5 separate regions of the Homo sapiens genome follow, and regions 1, 2, 3 and 5 are each linked to region 4. The links are contacts of gene promoters, found by promoter capture Hi-C in blood cells and fetal thymus (Javierre and others, 2016). All regions are on one chromosome and are shown on one strand. Each heading gives the region's core, a stretch centred on a gene start or on the middle of the fragment in contact. The rest is flanking DNA. Distances are from core to core; before and after follow the strand shown. Region 1 overlaps LOC124909439. Region 2 overlaps DZIP1L (DAZ interacting zinc finger protein 1 like). Region 3 overlaps MRPS22 (mitochondrial ribosomal protein S22). Region 4 holds the start of FAIM (Fas apoptotic inhibitory molecule). Region 5 overlaps COPB2 (coat protein complex I subunit beta 2).

Region 1 (3,370 bases), core at 19-2,518, 710 kb after region 4:
GGGGACCTGAAAGCTTGGGGTACAGGTCTCCCCAGTGGAAGGCTGGCTCAGAGGAATTCCACATGTGGATGTGGGCCCGGGATCGCCGTTCAGCAGCTGCATATCCAGAGGACGACTGAAAGGGGAGGAACAAGGCACACAGGTGGGAGTCTCCTGCTGCTGACCACCCAGGATGGACCTGCCTGGGGAAGGCTGGAGGATTTGGCAGGGGCGAGGGAAAAGCAACTCACACTTCAATGCAAGAGCTCATCCCAACACCTTTTGAGACTGGGGTGTGGTCTCATTCTCTAGGAATCAGCGACTCAAAGAGGGACTCACAGAGGTGGAATGGTGGCTGGCTCATGGTCACCACAGTAGAGAAGCTAGTTTCAGAAGAAAACTGCAAATAAATCTTGGAATGTTCCATCTGGGACCTCAATGGCTTTGTCCTGGGAAGGTTTTGGCCAAAAAAGAGGGTGCTGTGTCTGAGATGAGGAGAGAGGTGTGAATGTCCAGCTCCTTGGGCTCTGCTCTTCTTGTCCCTGGCTGGAGCTCCTGACTCAGGCAGGCAGGGGCATCGCAGGACCCATGGGTGCAGAGCCCAGAGCCAGGACCTCAGTTTACTCTGGTTGTCTTCCTGCCTATCTGGGCTGAGATGGGGATCCAGCTCAGCAGCATGTACGGTGTCCCCCACATACCCCAGTGTCACAACTGCTCCAGCTCGGCTTCCTCAGCAGCCCTGGCTCCATGCTTAGGACCCGTGGTGGGTCCCTGGTATTCACTATGATGCTGCCTGCCCAGCCCTCTGCCCCTGCTCCAGTGCCCAACACACCAAACTTGTCAGCCCGGCCTCTGGGGCTGGCACCTGTCCAGTGTTTCCTTCTAACCCCCACCTGGGCACTGGCCTCAGAGTCATATGCTCCTGGGTTAAAAACTCTGCCACTTACTAGCTATACTCGCTGGGCAAATGACTTTATTTGTGGTGCTCGTTATTAAGCCATTGTCTCTCAGCTTCAAACCAGCGTCCCTCTGTGATGTTCTGGGATCCCACAAATCACCAGTATGCCTTGCCAGAACTCCTTGTTAGGCTCTGCCAAGAGGGGGCACTAGAGGGAGCCTGCAACACTGGTGGATGGAGAAGGGGTCAGCTCCTTTGTGTCTGTTTCCTGTTCTGTTGGCAACACCCCAGCAATGCAATGGCCCTGCACCCCAGCAGCAGCCGCTGGTTCCAGCTGTCAGTTTCCTCCCCATTCGCAGACCTGTCCCATGGGGTCCTCTGAGAGACACCCCCTCAGAAATCTGGGCCTCAGCCTTGCAGCCCCCTCCCAAGTGTCCACATCTTTATAAGCCCACACTCTCACCCTTGTTCCCTCAGCCCTAGGGGCTGTTACTGACCCTGAGGATCTTTTCATGTGCTTATTTGCCATCCCTGTATTTTCTTTGAAGTGTCTGCTCAAATCATTTGCCTATTTTAAACAATTAGATTACTTCCTTATTATTGACTTGTAAGAGGGCTTCATATATTCCTGCTGTTACTACCTCTGATGTCTCAGCATTCCCCTTTGCCTTTCTGTTCTGCAAGCCCTGGTTAACAGTGCCTTATATGAAATTCGCTTTGTCAAAAAGACATTTTCTGTCTCCCAACAGACATACTAGTCTGTGCCTCCGATTCCTCATCCATCAAAGGGGAACAGTGACTCCACCTCACAGGTGGCAGTGAGGAGTCAGCCAGAAGATGCCTGTGAAGGGCATCATGGCCCAAGGCCTGGCACCGAGGTAGGACCTGGTTCGAGTGGCTGAAGACTCAGCAGCTTCAACAGGGTCCCTATCGTGAGCCCCCAGAGCTGTGCCTTCCTGTTTGCTTTAGGCCAAGGGAAGAAGCAGAGTGCCTCTGTGGGCTCCTCTCAGCTGACGCAGAGGCGGTTTTTCCAGCCAGCTTCTCTCCTTTGAGAACTCGTGCGATAAAGGAGAACCTGGGCAACCCTGGAGTGAGGCAGGGTGAGGAGAACTGGCCCTTCTTACATGGCCTAATAGTCACATTTAAGAAGTACCCTAATGAGAGATTTTTTAAAAGTCTGGTTTTCAAATTTCACTGTTAAGAAACAAAAGGGCAGGCCATAAACTGGAGGGAATTAACTCAATGTTAAGTATACAGACAACTTAAAAAAAGCAGAAGATTTGAACAAACACTTCACAAAAGAAGATATCAGAATGGGCAGCAGGCACATGAAAAGATGCCGAATGTCATTAGTCATAGAGAAATTCAAAGTAAACTACAATGAGATATCACCACCTCCTCTCCCACTAGAATGGCTAACATTAAAAAGACAGAAGATTCTGTGCTGATGAGGATGTGGAGCAATTAGTACCCTCATACTTTGCTGGTGGGTTGCAAAAAATAAGACCATTTTAGAAAATTGATTGGCAGTTTCTTATCTAGTTAAACAGAGGCTTATCATATGACCCAGCAATCTCCTTCCTGGATATTTACCTGAGAGAAATGAAAACATTTGTCTGTATAAAGTCTCCTTTGCAAATAGTCATAGAAGCTTTATTCATAATAGCAAAAACCTAAAAATAGCCCACACGTCCATCAATAGGTGAAGGAATAAATAAATCATGACATATTGGCACAATGGAATACTAACTCATTGGTGAAATCAATAAACAACCTGTATACACAATAAATCTCAAAATCATGCAGAGTGAAAGAAATCAGACATCGAAGAGTACATGCTGGGTTATTCCATCTATATGAATCTCCAGAAAAGACAAATCCGTTCTATAATGACAGGAAGTAGCTCCGTGGCTGCTCAGAGGCAAGGCTGGGGTGGAGCACTGATGGGGAAGGGGAGCAGGGTACCTAGAGTGATGGGAGTGTTCTGTACAACAGCTGTATACATTCCCCAAGGCTTACCAAAGGGTACATCTAACATGGATGCGTTTTATTATGTGTCAGTTGCACCTCAATAAAGTTGATTTTTAAAATGTCACTTAGACATGAAACAGTCTTCATAAGACTGACATACAAGGAAGGGACCCATCACCACAGAGAGCCTCCAAATGGAGCCTCCTTTGAAGGAAACCCCCTTCAAACACCCCTGTGCTGAGCATTTTCTGTGTACACCCACTCTCCTGCCATCCTGTTCTGTGTCCAGAAGTTTGACCAGAATGGACTGCATAAAGACTCTCTTGTCCACTGTGTTCTTGTTAGATTAGACCAATGCAAGGTACCAGCAGGAGATCTAAGGGCAGGGGATAAATGGGTGGGAGTTATTTATTCCTCTAGCAGATCCTGCAGGGTTGTGGCAGGCTGCTCATGTCCCTGGACTGAAGGTCACAGCTCCCTCCAGGCACCCCTGCCTGGACCATGCTCCCCTTCCAGGTTCTG
Region 2 (3,457 bases), core at 888-3,387, 540 kb before region 4:
TTCTTCCCCACATACTACCCTCTCTCACAGAAGAAGCCAAGCAGAGGGGTGGGCCTACAACACACCCTGGGCCACGGCGCACCTGAAGGAGGGCCGCTGATCCAGAAGACAGTGCCAGCTCTTTCTCTCGGACCCTCCCCGCCCCTGTGGCTGGGGTTGGAGCCTGGCTGGAGTGTACCCTACAGCTGCCTGTTTAAGGGCCTGCACACTCAGGGTCTTCTTTGCAAACCCAGCCCTGCACACAAGTAAGATTGGGATCTGGATTTGGGGAGGCTGGAGGGGCCCCCACTTTGGCCTCAAGTGCGGGTTGTTCCTCTAATCCAGCCCTAACAGGAAGCCTATGCCTCAGGCATTCCTGGGCCCTGTCACCACTACTAGAGCGAGGCTTTGATCTCCCGTAGCTGGCCACAGTGTTTACTCTCTACTGGAAAGAACATGGAGGAGAAAAGGGGTGAATGGCTCCCTTCAACCTCCCACAGTTAACAATTTAATGACAAAACAAGGGGTAAAACTAAACCTTGCTCAAACTCTAGCTTTCTCCTGATATCTCTGCTATCCCACAAAAAAATATCTGAGGCGAAGGAGGACCATCCTTTCCAAGCCAAATAGAGAAAGAGATGTCAAATAAGAAAGCCTAAAGGAAGCTAAAGGGTGTTTCTGGAGCCTTGAGAAATCTGGGCTGGAGAAGGGCTACACCGGTGGTCCCAGCCCACTCACCCAAAGGTGCCAGCTCACCTGAGCCCTGGCCAGGGGGCTGGGCATTCTCCTCCGAGGTCTCTGTGTCAGACCAGTCCCAGTCATCCTTGGGCCGGGGCACCATCCTGGAAGGAACTTTTGGGGGCTGTAGAGACACACGCTGCACACGGTCTCCCTCTGAGTCCTCTTCAGAACTGAACGGGGGCGTGCTGCCACGAGGAGGAGAAGAAATGAGGGATGCATGGGCCAGAAAGAAAACTTCAAAAGCCAAACTTCACCACGCTTCAAGCTGGTTTGGTTTGCTCAGGGCCAGCCCTGCTCCCTCCCTCAGGCCCAGAAGACAGCCAGGAGACCCCTGGAGTGCAGCAGCCACACCAGTATCTCCCTTAGTAGAGCCCTGCCCATCTGAGGATCCAGCCCCTCTGGAGGGGGAACGGGTTTGGGGGAGGACATGGGTAAGGGGAGGGTGGGTTTGTCTTGGCTGGGAGCACAGGTTCTCAAGTCCAGAGCTCAGACTGGACCCCACCTGAGGCACCTTCTATTCACATGTGTCTGCCCCCCTCCTATCTGCAGAAGCCTGGAGGGAGCCCAGAACAGGACTGCCTGAATCCAGGAGCCACCACTGCAGGTGGGGTGAGAGGGCAGAGTCTGGGGCTCACCTCATCCCGGGCCCCGAGGAAGGAGGGGTGCTGGAGGGTCCATGCAGTCCGGGGCGTGGAGCGGGGGCGGACACCTGGGTCAGGCTGGAGCCATGGCTGCCATGGCTCTGACGAGTTGGTGGGGGTGGCTCTGCCGGTGTGGATGGCAAGGCCACCTGCAGGGTCCTGGTCTTTGGCTGGGCCTCTCTGGTGACCAGTGTGCTCTGCTGGCTTTTGACTGGAAACACAGAAAGGAATGATTTTTGGAGTACACCCATGCTGGATCTCAAGCCTAAGAGGAGGGAGAAAGTGGCTCCAACACCCTGGAAATGAACAATTACTCCCTCTCCGTGCTGTAATAACCACAGCAGATTTCATGACTGTTGCCAAATCAGGTGTTCTGCTGGCCAGATTCGAGGCTAGGACCACAGTTCCACAGTTTCATCAGAGACCAGGAGAGCAGCTGGGTGCTCCAGGGTCGTGTTGTCATTACTGAAGACCAGCAGGAGTCCGCGGGCCTGAAGAGGGGCTCAGTAGTCCTAGATGGACTTCACCAAGGCTGCTACCCTCTCCCCAACCCACGCTACAGCCGCTGCACTGCAGGCAGTCCTGCAGGAAGACCCCACTGCCACCAGAGGTCGCCGCAGGACTGCATGAACCATCAAGATCCACTCAAACCTCCTCCCAAATGCAGTCTGGGGCAAGGCAGTACCAAGGCAGGCAATTGGACACAGCCCCTCTGTTTTCCAAATTGCATCAAGACCTATAGCCACAAGAGCGGTCCCGGATCAGCAAGTTTTTATGGGAAGAGAAGAGAGAGAGTGCATCACAGGGAGTCAGACATGTGTGGATTGGGTCACAATGTAAAATGAGTTTCTTACAGTAATTCAAGATCAGAAAATGTTTGAAATACAGTTGACCCCGAAACAACGTGGGGTTGAACAGCCATGGGTCCACTTATACGTGGATTTTCTTCCGACTCTGCCACCCGTGAGACAGCAAGAGCAACCCCTCCTCTTCCTCCTCCTCTTCAGCCTACTCAACACAAAGATAACAAGGATGAAGTCCTTTATGATGATCCACTTCCCCTTAATGAATAGTAAACATATTTGCTCTTCCTTGTGATTTTCTTAATAACATGTTCTTTTCTCTAGCTTACTTTATTGTAATAATACAGCTTATAATTCATATAACATACAAAATGTGTGTTAATAGTCCATATTGTCGGTAAGACTTCTGGTCAACAGTAGGCTATGAGTAGTTAAGTTTTGGGGCAGTCAAAAGTTACACGCAAATTTTCAACTGCATGGGGGGTTTGCGCCCCTGACCCCTGCATTGTTCAAGGGCCAGCTATGCACTGCTCTCAGTGAATGTGTCTACTCAGAAGTGGAGCTTCCAGGAAAGAGTGAACTGAAGAGAAGGGGAAGACAAAGACAAGCCTGCTGGGGGAAAATAACAATAGCTTCCCATGACTGTGTACCAGATACTAAGAAAAGCACTTTACATACAACCACTTGGCCCCCGAGCATCTTCAGAGGCTATCATTTTCCCTACAGAGGCTTGCCCTCAGCTCCACGGAAGAAAGTGGTGAATACAAACCCAGGTTGTCTGTCTGCCCTAATCTTGGGCCCTCACCGCTACTTCCCACAGCCTTGCCCAGGCCACAGAAGAGGCAGGGTCCAAGCAGAAATGGGAGGTGAGCATTAAGACAGCACTTGTGGGACCCAGGAAAAGAATAAAGGTGCAGAGCTGGAAGGAAAGGTCTACAAAATGCCACAAAAACACAGCGCTCATCTCACAACTCAGTAACATCTCCAGAGAAGGCAGAACCCCAGGGCCAGGGAAAGGGAAGGCTGCGAAGGGGGCTCTCCCTCCTGGCTTTTTTACTACAGGAACAAAGGTGTGTGGGAGTGGGTGGGGCGTAGCACCTAGAAGGAGCAAGATACCTTTGCTTTCTCTTGGAAGCCAGCATTCCGAGGGTTTTTCCATTCATCCTCCCCAAGTCCCTGTCCCCTCCCTCCTCTGAGCTCCCACCACCCCCATGCTTGGCTCCATCACATCACCTGGTCCTGGCTGATTTCCCAGGTGAGGTGGAAGGCCCTGGCACAGAGTCAACCTCAGCA
Region 3 (3,483 bases), core at 984-3,483, 740 kb after region 4:
AAGTACATGAGAGAGGTTGAGTAATTGGATGGAAGGTGATCTTGGCAGGAGATTCAGATTTTAGAGTTTCTGGCATATAAAGGTAATTGAAGTCGTGGCAGGATAGGAGAAATCATCGAGTAAGAATCTGAGAAGGGAGAAAAGGACATCGTTCAGAATCTGTAGGGATACCAACATTTATAGGAGAAGAAGAGGTGACTAGGAACAAATGGCTTTTTCTTTCTTTTTTGCTAATGGAAATGGAAGTAGAAGTTAGGCAAAGCAATAAGCAAACTGCATGAGGCTGAGCTAAGATTTGATTCTCTGCTTATGTCAAAGGCTCTTCCATGATAACACACGGCCTCTTCAGTATCATGTCCAGTGAACCAAGCCTCTTTCCTAGCTGCAATCTCTTAGCCTAGACTTTCCCTCCCTTTTTTCTCTGCCGTGATGAGGCTCTTGGGACGCTTTCTTTGACCCTGTCATGCCCATCCCTAGTCCAGGCTATGCTTAGTTTCTTCCTCTGCAATCACCCAAGCCCCGTACCTCTCCTGTATACCATACCTCTCACATTATGTCTCCCCACACCTCCCACTTATACCGAGGAGCGCTATGATAAATTGGAAACCATCTAGGATCCAGAACCAGACAAACCTTGGTTTAAATTTTGACTCTATCACTTAATAGCTAGTTGTCTTTGGATAGGCTTCAGCATCCTCATTTATAAAATTGGGTTTATCAGTACCTATTTTGTGAGTGGTTATAAGCATTCCTGAAAATGTGTGTTATACCTGCCATATAGGAGACAGCTCTGTAAGTGGCAGCAACCATTACAGTTATTACATTAATTACTTTATTACTGTTACTTCCTCTAGTAGTCTGTCCTTTTGGCAGAGACCGAGTCTATCTCCTCATCATAATGAGTGCTCAGTAAATCTTAAATGAAGAAATAAATGAATGCATCTCATAGGTATTAGCATTTTGCAGTGCCAAGGTAGACATTGTGCTAATGCTTTTTATTGTTAACTGACTTTTCTATTTAGAGGTCTTGTTAGCTTGTCATTTTTGTCAGCTTCTTATTTACTAAAGTCCATTTTAGCAGAATCTGGTAGCCCAGAGACCAAGAAACCTACATTTATGGATGAGGAAGTTCAAAGCATACTCACGAAAATGACAGGCTTGAACTTGCAGAAGACTTTTAAGCCAGCTATACAAGAACTGAAGCCACCAACCTATAAGCTAATGACTCAGGCACAGTTGGAAGAGGTACGTGAATGCAGGAATATTGTTAGAATACCTTTCTTTAAGGGTTTAAACAACATTTCTAGAGGCCCCTCCAGATGCTTATAGCTATTCTTCCATAGGCACTAGTGAAAGGTAATACCAGGCATAGAACTGAGAAAAGAAATGTGAGTAGGCTGCCAGAGAGGGGCAGGGAGCATGGCTGGAATTGAGCAGACTAGGGCATATGGATCAGGTCTGGGTGTTCAGAGAGTATCCTCTCTCCTCTCAAGGCAGCCTGAGCACCCCTCCTTTTTTCTGCCTGCTCCAGCTTCCTTCCTGGAGAAACATCTACTGTGATCTGCCTTGGGGCTGAAGCTTTGGGGAGATTGTGAGATCCTGCATGGAAACAGCATGTTTTCCAGGCACCAGTGTCCTCAGTACCATGGGTACTGAGTGCTGCGTGGAAAACACTTTGATGTATGAATACGTAAAGCATTAATACTCGTCTTTCTGATTCAAAAGTAATTTATAGTCAGCAAAATATATATATCTCTCTCCAGTAGTAGATTACATGAAGAGTAAAAGTCCATCTTTTCACCTCCTAGAGGTAACTGCTTTTAACAGTATGGCATGAAGCAATGTAGTCAATGGTTAAGAGAATGGGCTTTGAAGTTGGGTTGTCTAGGTTCAAATACCAGTGTTGCAATTTTCTAGCAATTTACTTAACATCTGTATGCCTCTGTTTTTTCTTCTGTAAAATGGAGATGATAACAATTGCACCTAACTCATAAGGTAATTGAGGCCATTAAATCAGCCAAATACATTTAGACTGTTTGAACACTATCTGGCACATAGTAAGCACCCCAAAACTGCATTCTTTTATTCTGTTTCAAGCAGCTTTTGTAGCCTGGCTTTGTCTCAGAGCATGCCTTTGTGGTTTTGATAACGGTTGAGTCTATAGCTGGTGGTCTCAGCCACATCGCAGAGGCAAAGGCCAGGGCTCACAAGTCCAGGTTTGGCTTTTTACTCACTGATTTGTGGCTACACCTTCTTTTCTATGCAGGTTTTTGCATTTTTTATTAGTATGTGCTTTTGTCAGATGATCCTTATATTATGTAACCTTGTGGCTTTCCTTAATAAATATTTTCTTTCATTAGGCTACAAGACAGGCAGTTGAGGCAGCTAAAGTACGATTAAAAATGCCACCAGTTCTGGAAGAGCGAGTACCAATAAATGATGTGTTAGCTGAAGATAAGATTTTGGAAGGAACAGAAACAACCAAATATGTGTTTACTGATATATCATATAGCATACCACACCGGGTGAGTATATGTCTAATCGCAAAATGATCTTTCTTTGAAATACTATGTGGAGAAGGGCTTGAGAGATGATGTGACCTGGCTGTCTCTGATGCGTCCAAACCAGATTTCCTCTGACTGGGTGAGACCCTTCTGGAAGATATACTATATGAGGGATGAGAAATGCAGACCAGCCCCACATCATGGTGTTACCATTTCTCAGCAGATAATAGGCACAGTATTTTCCAGATTCCAGATGTGCTGAGGCAGAACAAGGAGTACACAGATACAGACAGAAACCCATCCCAAACCACAAATGGACAAAAATCTACAAGGCAATGGAAGCAGGAGACTCTTTTCGCCTAAGTTAGATGGATTTCTTTAGCTGAAGCTTTTTGAGAAGATAGAATGTTTCTGTCTTATAAATTCCTTGATGATGCCAAGAAACTCAGGCATCATAAAGGATTTTCGCTTTCCAGAATTTTCAGTAAGAATGACAGATGTTTCTCAGATAATTTTCAGGCATCACCACTTCTTCTGTTGTGATTGTTATTCTCTGGCTCCTCTTTACTTGATTGCAAATTTAAAAGAACACTCTGGCATTTTAGAAATATGTAAGCTTTGTATTTGAGCCTTTGCAAGTAAAGAATAAAAAGAGAATAGTTTACAATTCAGCCCACAGAATACGTTAGAACACTATAGAATGCTGAGTTTAGGAGAAGGTTCACTCCATATTAATCTTTTATTATACATGATTATGGTTAGAAAACGATTTGAGCTATGTTCAACACCAGCCATCTGTATATTTGACATAATGAACATGAGTCACAGAGTTTCAATTTTAATTACAGTTTTTGTTTTGTGATGCTTTAATATATGTTTGCAGTGCTGTGCATGTTGGTTGGGAAGCATTTTGTAACTTGAAAAGGAGAAAGGAACTTGGAATTCAGGTTTCTCAAATTACCAAAATCCTTCTGAGGAA
Region 4 (3,552 bases), core at 576-3,075:
TTCTATGACTGGGCCTACTCTCCACAGGGACCATTCACTGCTCCTCACATGGCCCACTCAACAACTTTTCTCGCTCTCTGTAGGCAACACTGTCTCCTCCTTAAATTGAAAATCAAGGCCACCTAAGACACTACCCAGGCCTGCTCTTCATTCATTCATTCATTTAATAAATATTTACCAGAGCTAACATGGGCCTGCACGGTACAGATGTGAGACATACAAGAATGAGAGCCAAGCGGCCATGGTCTCTGCCTTCATGGATCTCAGTCTACTGTTAAGTTACACATTAAGCAAAAATTACACAAATTATTGCACACCCTGAAAGGGGCTAGGAAGAAGAATCCCTGGTGCTGCAATTTTTGTGTTTTTTTTGTTTTTGTTTTTGAGACGAAGTATCACTCTGTGGCTCAGGCTGCAGTACAGTGAGGCGATCTCAGTTCGCTGCAACTGCCACCTCCCAAGGTCAAGTGATTCTCCTGCCTCAGCCTCCTGAGTAGCTGGGATTACAGACGCATGCCACCACGCCCGGCTAATTTTTGTATTTTTAGTAGAGCTAGGGTTTCACCACGTTGGCCAGGCTGGTCTCAAACTTCTGACCTCAGGCAATCCGCACCTGGCCTCCCAGAGTGCTGGGATTACAGGTGTAAGCCACTGTGCCCGGCTGTTTTTTTTTTTTTTTTTTTTTGAGACAGAGTCTTGCTCTTCGCCCAGGCTGGAGTGCAGTGGCTCAATCTCAGCTCACTCCAACCTCCACCTCCCAGGTTGAAGCGATTCTCCTGCCTCAGCCTCCCAAGTAGTTGGGACTACAGGCATGCACCACCACGCCCCTCTAAGTTTTATATTTTCAGTAGTGACGGGGTTTTGCCATGCCTGCCTCAGCATCCCAAAGTGCTGGGATTACAGGCGTGAGCCACTGAGCCCGGCTGTTTCTTTTTGTGTGTGTTTTTTTTAATGAAACAGGGTCTCGCTCTGTTGCCCAGGCTGGAGTGTAGTGGTGCAATCACAGCTCTCTGCAGCCTCTACCTCCCTTCAGGGCCCAAGCAATTCTCCCACCTCAGCGTCCCAAGTAGCTAGGATTACAGGCCTGAGCCGCTAATTATTTTCTTTTCTTCTTTCTCATTCTCTCTCTCTCTTTTTTTTTTTTTTTACCATGTTGCCCAGGCTGGTCTTGAACTCCTGGACTCAAGAGATCCGCCACTCTGCCTCCCAAAATGCCGTGATTACAGGTATGAGCCACCACACCCAGCAATGCTGCAAGTCTTATGGGCCAGGATAGTGTAATCTAAGAAATGATATATGAAGAACTCTCACAATAGGGAAGAGGTGAGGAGTGTCCAGGCAGAGAGAAGAGCATTTGCAGAGGCCCTGGGCGAGAAGAAACCTGCATCCTTTAAGGACCTAAATGAAGCCAAGCAGGCAGAGGCTAGATCACACATGGGGGCTTCATGCCCACCTTAAGTAGTTTGGGTCTTTAAAAAAGGAATGAGACTCATAAAGAGGTTTTAAGGAGCGAATGCTATTGCTGCCATGAACAGATATTCCTTCCCCATAGCTGCAGAGCAGGCACAGGGCTGTTTTTGCCCGCCAGTATGTCCCCACCGTCTAGCCCAGAGCGGGGCCAGCGGCCGGCTCCTACCCACACTTGCTGGCAGGAAGACTGGACGCACTGCGGGACATGGTGATGTCCTGGGTTGGGGCTGAGGAAGGCCTATGCGCGGAGGGTGCGGCCTTCGGCTAAGGCAGAGGACCAGGGTTGGGTCCGTGGCGGCGGGAGGGGTGGCCTCCTGCGCTGGTCGCCCCAGGGGACCTGAGAGGCGCGACAAACAGTCGGCGCGTTTGGTACTCGCGCCTGCAGAGCTTTCAACCTCCGCGCCGGCTGCGCCTGTTTCTCGGCCAGGGGAGCAAGGCCACGCGGCCTACGCAGCCGAGTCGGAACCAACCGGTTGTTTGGTGAAACCTACCCCAGAGCCTCCCGCGGCCCACAGAGCACAGGTGAGGCAGCAGACCGGGTGGGGTCGGTGTCGCGCCTGCGCCCGCCCGGACGCCTCGGGCCCGCCCGCTCCGCACCCTGGAAACCCCTGCACTCAGCCCCCCGGCGTCCCCACGCTCTCGGCCCTGCTGCGCCGGCGGCGGCCATCTCTGGGCGGCGGCGGCGGGCGGTGTTTGCGCGGTCGGTGAGACCCGCGCGGGTGAGACGCTGGGTGAGTTCCGGACGCTTCCAGCCGGCCCGCCGGTGATCCCAGACCTCGGGGCGGGACGCGGCTCCCGCTCACCGCCGGCAAAGGTGGAGGTGCGGCGGGGCGCGGGGCGCGGGGCCAGCCCGGGGCGGTGCGGGGGCGTCCCTGCCTAGCGAGGCCCTGCCCCGCGACCTGCCGCACCCTCCTCCGGCCTGTTCGCGACCTCTAAAGATAATACTTCTCACTGTCGAAAACGTGGAACAGAAAGCAAGGAAGCAAGCAAAGCAGCCGTGCCGCTGCTCCCCAGAGACAAGCTGCGTTAACATGAGGGTGTATATTCTTCCAGATGGTTTTTCCTTGTAACATGAGCGGGGCTTGTTTTTGCAGAACCTGCATCATAAAGTGCTGAAACTCTCTCTCTCTCTCTCTCTCTCTCTCTCTCTCTCTCTCTCTCGACTCTCTCTCTCTCGACTCTCTCTCTCTCTCTCTCGACTCTCTCTCTCTCTCTCTCTCTCTCTCGACTGTACATTCCTGTGTGTCAGGTTGACTACCTCATCCATCCCTGACTCTTGGCATGGCTTTGGACTGTGATTTACTAAATGTAGTTTCTCCCTGATGGTGAGCGTACAAGTGGTTTTCAGTTTTTAGTTATTGCAAAAAGTAATTCATTGAGCATCGTTGTATCTGGGTTTTTGAGCGTGATCATTTCTGTAGAAAGAATCGCACAAGATTCGTTCTAAAACAAGATAGAATCCACGGTCTATACCACAAGGCTTCTGGTATAGATTGTGAAATGGCCCTCAGAAAAGTTATTCTCCTTTTTGTACCTCCAGTAAGTAGCATTTGGGAATACTTGGCTCGAGGAGCTTCCTGAGTGATTTTACTGGAGACCCCCCTCACTTCATAAGGGGCCGGCCCGGAGATGAAGATGTCAACACTTGAGTGTGACTTGCATTATTGGCTGGCCCTACCTGGGGGCCTTTGCTGAAAAGGGAACCATGAGCATCTTAGTAACTACTATCATCTAGTAATTTTTAAACTGACTTCGGTTTATCTTGAACGAACCATTTCAGTCCCCAGTAAGAATAAACCTAAGTTAAGGCAAAATTCAGGTGGATTAGATGAACAGTGGCAACGTGTTGGTGTTTAAGTCATGCTCTGAAACTTAGGTGTTGGGTTGCTAGGGAAGGGATTTTAAAAGATTGATGGGTACGTATGAGATACGCAAAAAGCTTTCTTTAAAGACATGTAAAAAGTTTCAAGTGCTTGGTATCATCTCCATCAGTGAAAGTAAGTGGAATATGGTTTTTCATCTTTTTAAATTTACATTTTAATAAAATATTTGCAAAAATAGAGGGTTTTTTGTATTTATCAT
Region 5 (3,861 bases), core at 773-3,272, 760 kb after region 4:
CACTATTTAATAAGAAGATGGAATAATTAAGGAGTCATTAAAGGAAGTGGTAAGAACAAACCTGGCAGATAAAATATTCAGTGACAGAATTCTTACTGTTTATTAGGATAATGGAAGCTGGCTAATGTTAAACTCAAGTAACCAGTAAAACTGGAAATGTAAATATAAACAGATATGTCAAAAAGAAAGGAATTTTGCAAAGTTGACTAAACAAGAATCATTTCAAAAGAAGAAAACTAGGCACAGCAGTGTAAACTTAGCTGTTGGTAATCTACTCAACTAGGCTGGGAAGTAGAGATCATCTAGTCCAACCCCTCATTTTGCAGATGAGACTATTAGCAGTAAATGGCCAAAGAAACGGGAGTCAAATATAAAACCTTCCAACTTTCTGTCATCTGTAGGTCATAGCAAACATTGTGTATTCAGGTCCAGTCACCAATTAGGTGTCATTACCTATTCCTTTATTGTTGGTCTCAAGTCCAGTTCCTCAGCAAGTATCCAAAAGACAGGAAGTCTAAAATTTCCTTCCCATGCTCCATTAAGGCATTAAGAACAAGCTTTTAAACCAGGGGTCTCCCAAACAACCAGTCTGTGGCCTGTTAGGAATCAGGCCGCACAGCAGAGGGTGAGCAGTGGGTGGGTGGGTGAGTGAGCATTACCGCCTAAACTCCGCCTGTAACGGCATTAGATTCTCATAGGAGCATGAACCCTATTGTGAACTGTACATGTGATGGATCTAGGTTCTGTGCTCTTTATGAGACTCTTAATGCCTGACGATCTGAGGTGGAACAGTTTCATCCTGAAATGTACCCCCTTCCCATCTGTGGAAAAATTGTCTATCTGCCACGAAACTGGTCCCTGGTGCCAAAAAGGTTGGGGACCACTGTTTTAAATCAACTATTGTAATTATTAAATTAGCTTCTCCTTCAAGACAAACACTACTGATGGGGTCATTTTTAGCTCTAGGGATGTAATGTGTTACACAAAAAGCTCAGGGATAGTTTACCTCTTCACCAGACTGAGGGAGAATGCTCATTTATGGGATAGTCAAGATTGAGAAGCTGGACAGCTTTAGGGTTCTGTCTGGCTATATCTTCAGGATGGCTTTATCATCAAGTTTGAAATGTTTTAACTTCTCAGCTTATACAGGCTGCCAACCCGCCCCGATCCATCCATGAATACGATGTAAATAAGGCATTCTAAATAACCGGAGTTACTTTTTTTCCACTAGCATTGATATAGATAACATAAAACCCAAGAGTGGAGGATGGAAGATCTCTGGAACTAGTCAGATACAGCCAAGGGCAAAACACATGAAATGAGGCGGACTAAAATATATACTTTTGTTTTCTGCTAATTCCCTACTACTAATAAAATCACACTAAAAGGATTTTTTTTTAAAGGCATAAGCTCCCAACGACACACAGAAAGGGAGAGGAAACAGTAACAAAAGTTTGGAAGCTGGAAAGCTGGTGGAGGAATATAAACATTTTGTTAAAACAGTAGAGAAAACAGATCCTAAATCAGGAGTGAGAACAGCATAGAAACAATGTGATTTACACCCAGTGTGTCTCATGAATGGTAGGGCTAAAAACAAACAAACTGCCCTAAAAGCATTCAGAAACTCTAGATCCGCTCCCCTCTCCCACCTCCCCTCTCTCACCTCCCCTCTCCCACCTCATGACAAAGAAGACAGGTTTATTCTTTGGAGAGGACAAACTAAAGAGTCTCCAGACCAGGAGATTCCAAGCACACTTGGAGGAAAAAGTACAGAGTATCAAAGGAAGACAGGAGATTATGAAAATGGATACACAGACTCAATGAAATATTAAATACTGAGACTCCAAGGTATCTTCTACTGAGACCCCAAAATGATGGTGACTGGGGAGCTTTTCAGTAAAATCTACTGAGCCCAAGGGAAAAGACTTAAAAATACTAAAATGTCAACTCCATGAAGGCTACATGTCAGCAGGAACAGTGCCTAGCACATTGTTAAGTGCTTGTTAAATTCATTACATAAATGGAAAGTCATCAAAAATTCATTGGCTAAAGATACTGACATTGAGACTCCCTAATCAAATGGGCCAACCACACCAGATATTGTGAAATCCAAACCCAATATGCCCCACCCACAAATTCAGACCTTCTGATCTGTTTCTTGTACCTTCACTCTTAAATGAGGGCCCAAGGACATCAGATACTTGAGGAAAATCACTAACAGCAAAGATGCAGATCAAAATGAAGCAATAAAAGGAACGTGAAGGAAGCATACCATATAGGGGGAAGAGAAAACTTCAAAATCTAAAAACAGAAATATATCATTCATATCTGTAGAAAGATACGAGAAACTTTTATCTATAAACAATAAGATTTTAAAAGAGAATAGGAAAATCAGTGCAGGACATACAACATGAACAATTCCAGAAAGACAGAATACAGAAAACGAAGGATATCACCATAGAACGATTCATGAAAATCCTTCAGAAATGTAGGACATAAGTTTCCCATTAAAAAAGCTCATCTAATAACTGGCAGAATTAATGAAAACTGATTCCTACCAAGGCCTACCATGATTATAACATTTCAGTACAACAGAGATGACATTCAGAAAGTTTCCACAGAGAAAAACCAGGTCATGTACTAAGAATGAGGAATAAAAATGGCTTTAGACTTCAACAATAACTACAAGGCAATGGAACAATGCCTTCAAAATTCTGAGAGAAAATTACCTCCAACAATTATATACCAGTTAAATGGTTGAATATGTTTTAGGGTAGAACAATGGCACTTTCAGATATTCAAAGTCACAAAACAATTTATCTCTCATTAACAATCCTTTTCTCAGGAAATTGCTGAAGGGCATGTTCCCCTAAAATGAGGGAGCAAAGCAGGAAAGGAGATAGGGGTATAAGAAACAATGGATCCAACAGGACAGAAGCAAAGGAAGCCCCAACATGATGGTGAGGGGAAATCCATGATGAGAGCAGGAAAACCAGTGCAGTCTGAAGGAGACTAAGCAAACTGAAAGGAGATCTTCAGGAACTCTGGAGAACCAGCAAAGTCCAGGGAGAATTAACCACAGGTACATAGAAAATTAAGCAAAGGGGGGAAAAAGACAATTATAAACTAGGGAAAACAAACAATTGCAGGAAAGGAAAGCTAGATAATATGCTACATGTTCACCTGTGAGCAGTGATTACATAGCCATAATAATGTAAACATTTGAGTAGTGATCAATCAAAATTAGAACTATTCTGAGAGATAAAGGATAGGAAAGTGGCATGTATGTGGTAGACGCAGGGGAATGAAAGAAGGCGAAATTCTCATCTTCTACAGAGGGGGAAGTCACAAGAAATGCCTAAAGCTAAGAAATGAAGAAACTGCTATACCTCAAGTTATTTAGAGATATGGAAATAAATACCAAAAGAATTAGATAAAATAATTACCTCTAGGGAGTAGAAAGCAAAAAGGAGGGCTGATTTTTTTCTTAAGCTTTGCAAAACTTACTTTATGCTTTGCACATATGTAACTTTGCTTAAAAAACATTACATAAGAAAAAGTCATGTCATGGTACATTTTATATGTATTTTAATCATTTTTTTTTAAAAAGCAGATGGGATAAAGCTAAAAATGCAGTGTAGAAATGAAAATATCAGGAGACTGGAAAATAAGTGCACAGAAAAGGAAGACTGAAAATCACCTCCAACATTTAAAGGGGGCACTGAGAAAGGAGAAGGAAGAGTGTAAGAAGGGTGTATCATGTGCTGTAATAAGTGCCTTAAACTCACAGGAGAAATTCTATTGCCACAGGAAATCAGTTGGCAATTAAGAAATAAAGTTTTTCAACTCCATAATAATTTG

What was found. Contacts are between HindIII fragments. The CHiCAGO score rates a contact against its expected background, and 5 or more counts as called.
Region 1: a contact is called between a fragment that was not itself captured here and the fragment with the promoter of FAIM in region 4, in 6 of 17 cell types (fetal thymus, monocytes, activated CD4 T cells and 3 more). The highest score is 8.7, in fetal thymus.
Region 2: a fragment that was not itself captured here is called in contact with the fragment with the promoter of FAIM in region 4 in 1 of 17 cell types (neutrophils); the score reaches 5.0 in neutrophils.
Region 3: a fragment that was not itself captured here is called in contact with the fragment with the promoter of FAIM in region 4 in 10 of 17 cell types (naive CD8 T cells, activated CD4 T cells, total CD8 T cells and 7 more); the score reaches 14.9 in naive CD8 T cells.
Region 5: a fragment that was not itself captured here is called in contact with the fragment with the promoter of FAIM in region 4 in 2 of 17 cell types (naive CD8 T cells and total CD8 T cells); the score reaches 7.5 in naive CD8 T cells.

What each region holds. Positions count from the first base shown.
Region 1 is chr3:139,318,890-139,322,259 of GRCh38, forward strand. The region is part of intron 1 of LOC124909439; the gene reads right to left. Among named protein-coding and RNA genes, the nearest start is that of MRPS22, 23 kb to the right of the region's middle. The HindIII fragment of the contact is 2,515 bases long and covers 12-2,526 here.
Region 2 is chr3:138,066,796-138,070,252 of GRCh38, forward strand. It overlaps DZIP1L (DAZ interacting zinc finger protein 1 like), which reads right to left. Exons shown (of 16, transcript NM_173543.3): 13 at 1,356-1,572; 14 at 736-905. Among named protein-coding and RNA genes, the nearest start is that of DZIP1L, 47 kb to the right of the region's middle. The HindIII fragment of the contact is 5,579 bases long and covers 1-3,457 here.
Region 3 is chr3:139,345,800-139,349,282 of GRCh38, forward strand. MRPS22 (mitochondrial ribosomal protein S22) reads left to right here. Exons shown (of 8, transcript NM_020191.4): 2 at 1,079-1,245; 3 at 2,361-2,525. Among named protein-coding and RNA genes, the nearest start is that of MRPS22, 3.5 kb to the left of the region's middle. The HindIII fragment of the contact is 1,314 bases long and covers 1,577-2,890 here.
Region 4 is chr3:138,606,946-138,610,497 of GRCh38, forward strand. FAIM (Fas apoptotic inhibitory molecule) reads left to right here and starts at 1,826. Exons shown (of 6, transcript NM_001033031.2): 1 at 1,826-1,992. RefSeq lists a silencer at 1,914-2,373 and an enhancer at 2,474-2,563. The HindIII fragment of the contact is 4,797 bases long and covers 1-3,407 here.
Region 5 is chr3:139,362,655-139,366,515 of GRCh38, forward strand. All of the region lies in intron 15 of COPB2 (coat protein complex I subunit beta 2), which reads right to left. Among named protein-coding and RNA genes, the nearest start is that of MRPS22, 21 kb to the left of the region's middle. The HindIII fragment of the contact is 2,935 bases long and covers 556-3,490 here.